2 separate regions of the Homo sapiens genome follow, and region 2 is linked to region 1. The links are contacts of gene promoters, found by promoter capture Hi-C in blood cells and fetal thymus (Javierre and others, 2016). All regions are on one chromosome and are shown on one strand. The core of a region is centred on a gene start or on the middle of the fragment in contact, and the rest is flanking DNA. Distances in the headings are between cores, read along the strand shown. Region 1 holds the start of CLPSL2 (colipase like 2). Region 2 holds the start of TULP1 (TUB like protein 1).

Region 1 (5,066 bases), core at 1,659-4,158:
GGTGGCAACCAGGGCCTATGGCCCCAAGGGAGCAGTGACCAGCCTGCATCTTCCTCTAAATCATATGGCACCGGCGGGAACACATCAAGTCCTTGGATATGCACGTCAAGCCCATCCGGCAAGGGCAGATGATGTTGGTAGCTCCCTTGGTCTGCAGGGAGTGGGTATGAGAATCGGGAGTCACCAGGATGCAGGAAGGATGGGGACTTAAACTTCTTGGGGACCAGAACCAAGAGTACCAGGCCTGGAGTAAGACAGACCTGGGCTGTCTCTACAGCTTATAACTGCGTGACCTTCAGCAAGTCAATGAACCTCTCCAGCTCGGTTTCCTCATCTGTCAAATGGGGACAGTAATAGTAACCCCCCTCATAGGGTTGTTGTGAGGACTAAATGAGATAGAGCAGATCAAGTGGTGATAATAAAAAGACCCTTTAGGCCATGCGCGGTGGCTCACCCCTGTAATCCCAGCGCTTTGGAAGGCCGAGGCGGGTGGATCACCTGAGGTCAGGAGTTTGAGACTAGCCTGGCCAACATGGTCATGGACTAATAATATAAAAATTAGCACATGCCTGTAATCCCAGCTACTCCAGAGGCTGAGGCAGAGGAATTGCTTGAACCCAGGAGGTGGAGGTTGCAGTGGGCCAAGATCACGCCATTGCACTCCAGCCTGGGCAACAAGAGCAAAACTCTGTCTCAAAAAATAAAAAAAATAAAAACCCTCTAGCCACTTCAGCTATAGGGTCAGGCCATGGTAGGGGCCCTGCTGCTTCCTTAGGGCATTGGCAACTCCCCACACAGGGACATAGAGGCTGGGTCCATCCATCCTAGAAAGGTTTGGGCCCAGGGCCAGGTGGGCAGGAACAGGGCGTACTGAGCATTCTGCTCCCTGCATTCCTAAAAGCGAGTGACAACCATGCTGGACTGCACACTCTCCTTGCCAGGACCACATAATCTTCCCAACAGCCTGGTGGGGTAGGTACTTTAGCCTCTCCTTGTAGATGAGGAAACTAAGGCTCAGAGAGCCATGATGACCTGCTTGAAGTCACAAAGATAGGGTGTGGAAAAGTCAGGATTTAAACTCAGGTCCAACTGCAAAGCTGTGGTCCTGCCACTGCAGTGCCATGCTCCTCTCAAGAAATCATGTCACTGTGGCAGGGAGATGGGGACTAGTAAGGGGAAGGTCATTTCCTACTTACCCTGCCTCAGTGGTGTGAGAGAAGAGATATTCATTCATTCAACAAGCATTTATTGGCCGGGCACGGTGGCTCATGCCTATAATCCCAGCACCTTGGGAGGCCGAGCCAGGTGGATCACCTGAGGTCAGGAGTTCAAGACCGGCTTGGCCAACATGGCAAAACCCCATCTCTACCAAAGATACGAAAATTAGCCAGGCATAGCGGTGCACCCCTGTAATCCCAGCTACTCGGGAGGCTGAGGCCCAAGAATCGCTTGAACCCAGGAGGCAGAGGTTGCAGTGAGCCGAGATCATGCCATTGCACTCTAGCCTGGGTGACAGAGCGAGACTCCATCTCGAAACAAACAAACAAACAACAATAAGCATTTATTGAGCACCTACTATGTGCAGATACTAAGCTGGGGGTAGGTGCTTCATAGATGAATATGATGCGATCCCTGCCCTTGAAGAGTTCCAACCACTGGGAGAGGCAGAGAAAAGACATGGCCAGTTAGGGAGATACATGGTCTGCTGAGGGTCTGACCCCAGGGTACAGGAGCTCCAAGGAGGGAAGCCTTCTCAGAGGAGGTGGCTGGAGTTGTTTTGCACCATGAGTAGGAGTTTGCCAAGTGGAGAAGAAGAAGGGCACTCCAGACAGAGGTGAAAAAACAGGTGGGGCCAGGTGTTTTTTTTTTAACCTCCCTGCCCGCTTCTCTACTTGCCAGAAGTTGCCCCATACTAGGGCCTCACCTGGGGCAAGCAGATCATGGTTATTCTGGCCCTGGGGGCACAGAAGGCTCCACCGGAGTCCAAGTCCATGAGGCAGCAGCCACTGTAGCACTCAGAGTGGTGGAAGCACCTGTCTGTGATTTTCTGTGGGGACAGGCAGAATGTCTGCCAGGCTGGGAGCAATCCCTGAGTCGTGTGGGCGGGTAGGGGAGGGTTCCCACCATTGCCAAAGAGCCCAGGGATCCAGGAGAAGTCATGAGGTTGTCACCCCTTGGGGGGCTGGTTCCCCCCCCAGCCCCACCCCGGCCCCTCAGCAGGACCCAGGGCAGCAGAGAGGAGGAGAGGGGGATTAGCACTTTTCCCTCGGCCTCTCCTTTCCTGGACCCCCCTCACCTCCATGAGTCCCATGGGGTGTGTACTCTTAAGTCCCATTTTGCGGGGCAGGGTTGGGGGATGAGAATGAAGGGGCTGCGGGCTCGAAAAAGAGGGAGAGAAAGAGGAGAAAAGGGGAGAGCCCTCGTGCCTGGAAGAATCACTAGACAGTGAGAGGAGGTGGAAGAAGAGGAGGAGAAACCAGAGCATGCAGGGTGGGTTTGCCTGTGAGCAGTTTGGGGAGGGAAGCGAGCCCAGGACTGAGGCCATCGGAAGGGGCACGGGCGGGGGAGGTGGAGGGAGCGAGGGTGCTGGTCATAGGCCAATTTCTCTCCCCTCTGAGGCCACCAGGGGAAAGTGAAGCGGCTTTTGAAGTCCGTCTGAGGATGCCCCAGGCTACCCGCCTGGGTGTGGTTCCGGACCCACCTCTCCCTTTCAGGCTGCCCGGCGCCTTCGGGCTCCAGTGCCCCGGCGGCGGGGCCACCCTCTCCTGCGGTCGCGGCCGGCTGGGCGCGCTCCCCGGCTCACCTTTTTATATTGCGGAAGCGCGCTCCAGAGGGGCAGCACCGCCCCCGACAGGACCCCCGCCACGAGCGCCAGGGCTGCGGCCATGGGCCTGGGCGGCAGAGCAGCGGCGGGGTTCCGAGGGGCCGCGGGATAAAACCTCTTCCCCGGCCACGTGACCCGGCGCCCCAGGCCACCCCGGCGGAGGAGGGACGTGGAGGGCGAGGACGCCTGCGGAAGGGAAGGAGGGAGGAAAGGCGCTCAGGCTCGCACGGGCGGGATTCCAGACTGTAGGGGCCCTGGGAGCCTCCATACGTGTTACTTCCAAGTAGAAGCTTGAAACTGTAAGATAAAACTCTATTTTTATTGTAAGATAAAACTCTATTTTATTGTATTTATTTATTTTACAGACGGAGTCTCGCACTGTCGCCCAGTGCAGTGGCGTGATCTCGGCTCACTGCCATCTCCGCCTCCCAGGTTCAAGTGATCCTCCTGCCTCAGCCTCCCGAGTAGCTGGGACTACAGGTGTGCGCCACCACGCCGGGATAATTTTAAAAATTTCTGTAGAGACGGGGGTCTCCCCATGTCGCCCAGGCTGGTCTCTAACTCCTGGCCTCAAGTGATGGTCCTGCTTCAGCCTCCCAAAGTGCTGGGATTACAGGTGTGAGCCACCGCACCTGGCCTCAAAACTTTATTTTTATAAACGGCACAAAACATATATGCTGAAATAAAAAGAGCTTCCTTCCTGATGTTGATTCTCTGTCTGCCCTTGCAGCCCCAGATTCTCCCCTTACCTTCGGGATAATCCAGCCCCACCCTCTGGGCTGCTCACACCCGCTGCAGGCCCCATTCTCCTCTTCTGTAAGAACCAGGAGGTGGGACAAGATGGTCTCTAAGTCTTAAATCTCTTGCAGTCTTAATCATTCTATTAATTGTCTAAGGATTTGTCTGTGAATTGTGTGAAAGTCAAGATGTGGGGGCAAAATGGAGAAGTGGGAAGAGAAGAAAACTCAGAATAGGGAGGAGGGTTAAGGGAGAGCTAGAGCTGCACAGAGCAATCCTGGAACCGGGGGAGGCAGGCCTTCCTCAGGACTTCCCTATGGATGAAGCTTCCACCTCACCCCACCTGCCTGCTTCTGCTTTTTTTTAATTTCTATTTTTTTTTAATTTTGTATTGTTAATATTTGTTATAGAGACAGGTTGTCCTTATGTTGTCCAGGCTGGTCTTGAACTCATGGGCTCAAGAGATTCTCCTGCCTCGGCCTCCCAAAGTGGTGGGATTACAGACGTGAGCCACCACTCCCAGCCTGCTTCTGCTTTTGAAGTTTCGCTTAAGAAATGAACCGAGGAATCCTGTCTTGGTGGGGAATAACAGCCAAGAATAACAGCCCCCACCGCACTCAGAGGGCCTTGTATCCATTATTTCCGTGAGCCCTCCCTGTATTAACACTAGCTGTCACAGAGTAATTAACACTGGCTGTAACAACAGAACTCCTGGAATTTCGTGGCTTGGCACAATAATGCTTTATGTACAGTCTGATTTGGGGCAAGATACCCTTCTTCCATCCTGTAGCCATCTATAAGACTGGCCTCTGGCTGGGCATGGTGGCTCATGCATGTATTCACAGCACTTCGGGAGGCCAAGGAGAGAGGATCAGTTGTTTTGGGGGTTTTTTTGGTTTTTTTTTTTTTTTTTTTTTTTTTTTTTTTTGAGACAGAGTCTCACGCTATTGCCCAGGCTGAAGTGCAATGGCACAATCTCGGCTCACTGCAACCTCCGCAAAGTGCTGGGATTACCAGTGGGAGTCACCATGCCCGGCTGAGAGGATCTCGTGAGCTCAGGAGTTCAAGGCCAGCCCTGGGCAATATAGTGAGACCTCATTGCTACAAAAAAAATTTAAGAAATTAGCCAGACATGGTGGCACATGCATGTAGTCCTGGCTACTCGGGAGGCTGAAGCTGCAGTGAGTTATGATCGTGCCACTGCACTCCAGCATGGGCAACAGAGTGAGACCCTGTCTCAAAAAAAAAAAAAAAAACTAGCATCCAAGGTCTCCATGGAAGACCTGCCTTCTCCACTCACAAACCACCTGCTGGAACTAGTCACATGATCCCAACCCTCTAACCTTCTGCAAGGGAGGCTGGGAAATTCAAAGGAGTCTTGGAATATTTAGCATCTACTATCATTTCTGCTGCGTAACTCTTAGCCCTGTTTTACAGACTAGGAACCTGAAGGCTCAAGATAAAGTTACTTGCCCAAGGAACAGGATTAAATGGCAGAGTCAGA
Region 2 (5,368 bases), core at 2,539-5,038, 260 kb after region 1:
AGGACAGAAGGTGAGAAACTGGAGAAGTGTCCCTGGGGCCTGAGCTGTGTCAGAGGGTGGATGTTCTTACAGTCCTGCCAGGTCAGCACTGAGCCCCAGACCCCTCGTGAGACAGTTCTTAGTTCTTTCTTTTTTTTTTTTTTTTTTTTTTTTTTTGAGACGAAGTTTCATTCTTGCTGCCCAGGCTGGAGTGCAATGGCGCAATCTTGGCTCACTGCAACCTCCGCCTCCCGGATTCAAGGATTCTCCTGTCTCAGCCTCCCGCATAGCTGGGATTACAGGTGCCCACGACCACACCTGGCTGATTTTTGTATTTTTAGTGGAGACAGGGTTTCACCATGTTGGCCAGGCTGCTCTCGAACTCCTGACCTCAAGTGATCTGGCCACCTCGGCCTCCCAAAGTGCTGGGATTATAGGCGTGAGCCACCTTGCCCAACTGTGAGACAGTTCTTAGCAATGTATCTGTTTGGCATTTGCAAGTCTCAGGAGCCCTCTGAAGTGCAGGTCGCAGGCAGGACTACTCTTGTCCCGGTCCAGGGGGCAGTCCTGCTCCAGTGTGCCAAGTTCTTTGCTGCCTGAAAACAGTTTGCACATGCTGTGCCTTGTGCCTGGAACATTCTCTTTTCTAGCCTTCAAGATCCTTCAGGCTGGGTGCAGTGGCTCATGCCTGTAATCCCAACACTTTGGGAGGCTGAGGCAGGCGGATCACCTGAGGTCAGGAGTTTGAGACCAGCCTGGCCAAGGTGGTGAAACACCATCTCTACTAAAAATACAAAAATTAGCCAGGCATGGTGGCACACGCTTGTAATCCCAGCTACTTGGGAGGCTGAGGCAGGAGAGAATCACTTGAACCCAGGAGGCAGAGGTTGCAGTGAGCCAAGATCACGCCATTGCACTCCAGCCTGGGAGACAAGAGCAAAACTCCGTCTCAAAAAAAAAAAAATTCCTTCAGATTTCAGTTTAAAAATGCCTTCCTTGGCCAGGCACGGTGGCTCAGGCCTGTAATCCCAGCACTTTGGGAGGCCGAGGTGGGCGGATCACTAGAAGTCAGGAGTTCGAGACCAGCCTGGCCAACATGGTGAAACCCCATCCCTACCAAAACTACAAAAAAAAAAAAAAAAAAAAAATTAGCCAGGCGTGGTGGCGGGTGCCTGTAGTCCCAGCTACTCAGAAGGCTGAGGCGGGAGAATTGCTTGAATCTGGGAGGCGAAGGTTGCAGTGAGCTCAGATTGCACCACTGCACTCCAGCCTGGGTGACAAGAGTGAGACTCCATGTCAAAAAAAAAAAAAAAAATTCCTTCCTCAGGGCAGGGCATGGTAGCTCATGCCTGTAATCCCAGCACTTTGTGAGGCCAAGGCAGGCGGACCACTTGAGGTCAGGAGTTTGAGATCAGCCTGGCCAACATGGTGAAACCCCTTGTCTACTAAAAATACAAAACATAGCCAGGTGCCTGTAATCCCACCTACTCAGGAGGCTGAGACAGGAGAATTGCTTGACCCTGGGAGGCAGAGGTTGCAGTGAGCTGAGATCGTGCCATTGCACTCCAGCCTGAGTGACAGAACAAGACTCCATCTCAAAAAACAAAACAAAACAAAACGAAACCTTCCTTCCTCAGGCAGCCTTGCCTGTACTCTAAATCCAGACTGGAACCCACCTGCTGGTCTCGTGGAGCCCAGTTCCTTTCCTTCTTGGCATTTCTCACAACTAATAATAATGAGATCATTATCACTAATTTGGGTATTTATGTCTCTACTATCTGTCTCTCTCACAAGCATGTAAGCTGCACGAGGGCGGGGACCACATCATGTTGTTCATCTCTGTATGACCATTATTTAGCATAGCGCTTGGCACACAATAGGTGCTCAGGAAATACTTGTTGACTGACACTCAGCTGTCAGTTTCCTCACCTTTAATATCAGGGTGTTTTCGTTTGGTTGTTTGGTTGTTTGGTTTTGTTTTTGAGACAGGGTCTCACTCCATTGCCCAGGCTGGAGTGCTGTGGCACTGTCTTAGCTCACTGCAGCCTCTGCCTCCTGGGCTCAAGTCATCCTCCTGCCTCAGCCTCCCAAGTAGCTGGGACCTCAGGCATGTACCACATTGCTCAGCTAATTTTTAAATTTTTTGTAGAGACAAAGTCTCACTATGTTGCTCAGCCTGGTCTTGAGCTCCTGGGCTCAAGTGATCCTCCCAAAGTGCTGGGATTACAGGCATAAGCCACTGCTCCTTGCCCTAATATCAGGGTGTTAATGTCTGTCTCATAAATATTATTGTGAGGGTGGAGTCAGAATGGGAGCAAGCCACAGTAGGTGGACAATAAATGCTATTATTATTATATGGTCAGAGCCAACTGAGGACTGAGGCCTCTCCGAAGTGGCGACTTGAGGACTGTTTAGAGTTGGATAGGTTTCATGGAATAGGGAGGGCGTTCCGGGAGGGAACAGCCTGAGCAAAGGCATGGAGGACAGAACTGTAAAGGCAGTAAGGAAACCTCTGTGGCTGGATGAAGAGTATGGCTTGGGATAACCCTGTGGTTAGAAAGGCAGACTGGGGCCAGATCAGGGAGAGCCTTGAATGTCAACCCAACACATTTAAACTTAATCCTTAGGCAGTAGGGAGCCAATGAATGTTTTTGAACAAAGGTGGCAACCGAAGAAATAGTATTTTAGAAAGTTCCATTTGATATGGATTTACTGTAATTAGCCAGGATCGTGCCACTGCACTCCAGCCTGGGTGACAAGAGCAAAATTCTGTCTAAAACAAAACAAAACAATACCACAAAAGCATGTCCCCTATCAGTGAAAAAAGAAAAAGAGTTAAGGGTATACCTCCAATACAGACATATTCTTTTTTTTTTTTTTTTTTCTGAGATGTAGTCTTGCTCTTTTTGGCCAGGCTGGAGTGCATTGGCAAGATCTCGGCTCACTGCAACCTCCGCCTCCCAGGTTCAAGTGCTTCTCCTGCCTCAGCCTCCCCAGTAGCTGGGACTACAGGTGCCCACCACGATGCCCAGCTAATTTTTTATTTATTTATTTATTTATTTTGAGACGGAGTCTCACTCTGTTGCCCAGGCAGGAGTGCAGTGGCATGATTTCCGCTCACTGCAAGCTCCGCCTCCCAGGTACACGCCATTCTCCTGCCTCAGCCTCCTGAGTAGCTGGGACTACAGGTGCCTGCCGCCATGCCCGGCTAATTTTTGCATTTTTAGTAGAGATGAGGTTTCACCATGTTAGCCAGGATAGTCTCGATCTCCTGACCTTGTGATCCGTCTGCCTCGGCCTCCCAAAGTGCTGGGATTACAGGGGTGAGCCACCGCACCCGGCTAATTTTTGAATTTTTAGTAGAGACTGGGTTTCACTGTGCCGGCCAGGCTGGCCTCGAACTCCTGACCTCAAATGATCCACCTGTCTCAGCCTCCCAAAGTGCTGGGATTACAGGTGTAAACCACCGCACCTGGCTCTAGTTCTTATTTTTTGTGAGAAATAAAGATAAATACAGGATCCAGTCTAATGTTTTCTTCCACATCCCATTGACAAATGACTAATCGGCCCCTCTCACCCCAAGCTTCTGGGGGCTTCTCGGGGCAGGTGGAGCTGGTGGCCATCCTGCAGGCTGCTGGGGATCTGAGAAGAACTGGAGTTGAGATTCTTCCCCCAGTGGCCTGGGCCTAGCAGGGGAGGGTCGTGGGCTGTAGCACCTCCCACAGCGCGGCCAGGCCTCCACTCCTTGAGCAGGGGGAAGGGGGGTGAAGTTGAGCCGAGATTAGCAGGAGTCGGGAGGGAGGCTCCTAGACCTGCAGAGAAAGGGGTGCGATAGGCAAAGGCACCATGCCTCTGCGGGATGAAACCCTCCGAGAGGTGTGGGCCTCTGACAGGTCTGGAAGGCCCCCAGTTCGTGGCACCTGAACCCTGGGGGGCCTAGATGGAGGGATGGGGAGTGGGTGGGATGGGGAGGGAAGGGGAAGGGAGACAGGCTGATCCCTTTGCTACCCTCAGTGGGCATGAAGAAGAAAGCCTGAGCCCGGAGGCCCCGCGGCGCCCCAAACAGGTATGCCACCCCACTTGGAAAGGAAGCAGAAAGATGTCCCCGCTGTGCGTAAACCCACGCAGGGTAGGGGGTCTAGGGGTGGGACAGGTCCCCCTTAGCAGGGTCTGGGGGTTGCATGTCTGGAGATCTGGGGGGAGAAAGGGCTGTTTGGGGACTTGGGGTTTCCAGGGAAGGAATAGGGACTTTGGAGCATTGGATATGGCCACGATGCATGGAAGGGGTCATCCTGCCTCACTCCAAGAAGGGGGCTGCAGTTCCCCCCGGATAATCTGCGGTTATTTCTGGCGGCTCAAGGGATTAGAGGGGGATGGGCGGGCCTCAGCGCCCCCCTTTCCTTCCTCGACCTCCTCTTGACCCCCGTTCCGCAGCGACCCGCCCCGGCACAGAGGCTAAGGAAGAAGAGGACGGAGGCCCCCGAATCCCCCTGCCCCACGGGATCCAAGCCCCGGAAGCCCGGAGGTGGGCGGGGTGCAGAGCCCGGGTGGACCCCCAGGGTGTGGGCTGCGGAAGGGAGGGGCTTGAGGGCCGGCGCGGGTGTCGCCGAGCCCTGGAACGGGGTGGGGGAGGAGGGGGCGGGGAGTGATGAGAGGGGAGGGATTGGGGTTGGGGTTGGGGTTGGGGTTGGTGTAGAAGGGGGTGGCGTTGGGGTAGAAGGGGGTGGGAAGCTGAATGGAAGCCGGGGAGAAGTGTTGAAAGTGGAAACCCAAGCCCAGGGGAGATCCCTAGGGTGAGGAGCCCGAGGGGGTGCGCCCAGGCTTGGGGGTAGCGGGTAGAGGCGCTGCCTCGCGGACCCGCGGATGGGACCCTGTCTGAACCCCGCATCTCGGCTCAGCTGGGCGGACGGGGAGGCCGCGGGAGGAGCCTTCCCCAGACCCAGCCCAGGCCCGGGCGCCGCAGACGGTCTACGCCAGGTTCCTCAGGGACCCCGAGGCCAAGAAGCGCGACCCCCGGGAAACCTTTCTGGTAGCCCGTGCCCCAGACGCGGAGGACGGTGAGAGAGGGCCCCAGGGACGCGGGTGAGGGGGCGGTGGAGCTAAGGAGAGAAGGGGCTGGCTGGACGGGAACGGCCCAGAGAGGCAGAAAACAACTGTAGTCAAATAGCCCCCACTTTTCTGGCCTTATCTTTGAGCCAGGTATTGTGCTAAGCACCAACTATGAGAGGGTGCTTTGTTCCCCCCCTCCACCATTGTACAGATGGAGAAACTGAGTCATAGAGCCGTTAAGGGTTTTTGCCTTAACCAGCAGTTAGGAGCCAGAAGTAGCCCAGATGGGTCTGACTCAAGGTCAGAAACAGACAAGGTCAGGGAGAAGCACAGTGGATGC

What was found. The method cuts DNA at HindIII sites, captures the fragments that hold promoters and counts their contacts. A CHiCAGO score of 5 or more calls a contact.
Region 2: the fragment with the promoter of TULP1 here is called in contact with the fragment with the promoter of CLPSL2 in region 1 in 6 of 17 cell types (erythroblasts, neutrophils, endothelial precursors and 3 more); the score reaches 7.3 in erythroblasts.

What each region holds. Positions count from the first base shown.
Region 1 is chr6:35,774,440-35,779,505 of GRCh38, reverse strand. It overlaps CLPSL2 (colipase like 2), which reads right to left and starts at 2,908. Exons shown (of 3, transcript NM_207409.4): 1 at 2,804-2,908; 2 at 1,925-2,047; 3 at 1-151. The coding sequence starts at 2,887. The coding sequence ends at 56. RefSeq lists a silencer at 2,798-2,927. The HindIII fragment of the contact is 8,503 bases long and covers 1-3,116 here.
Region 2 is chr6:35,511,316-35,516,683 of GRCh38, reverse strand. TULP1 (TUB like protein 1) reads left to right here and starts at 3,788. Exons shown (of 15, transcript NM_003322.6): 1 at 3,788-3,872; 2 at 3,994-4,045; 3 at 4,414-4,504; 4 at 4,878-5,036. The coding sequence starts at 3,826. The HindIII fragment of the contact is 3,090 bases long and covers 3,565-5,368 here.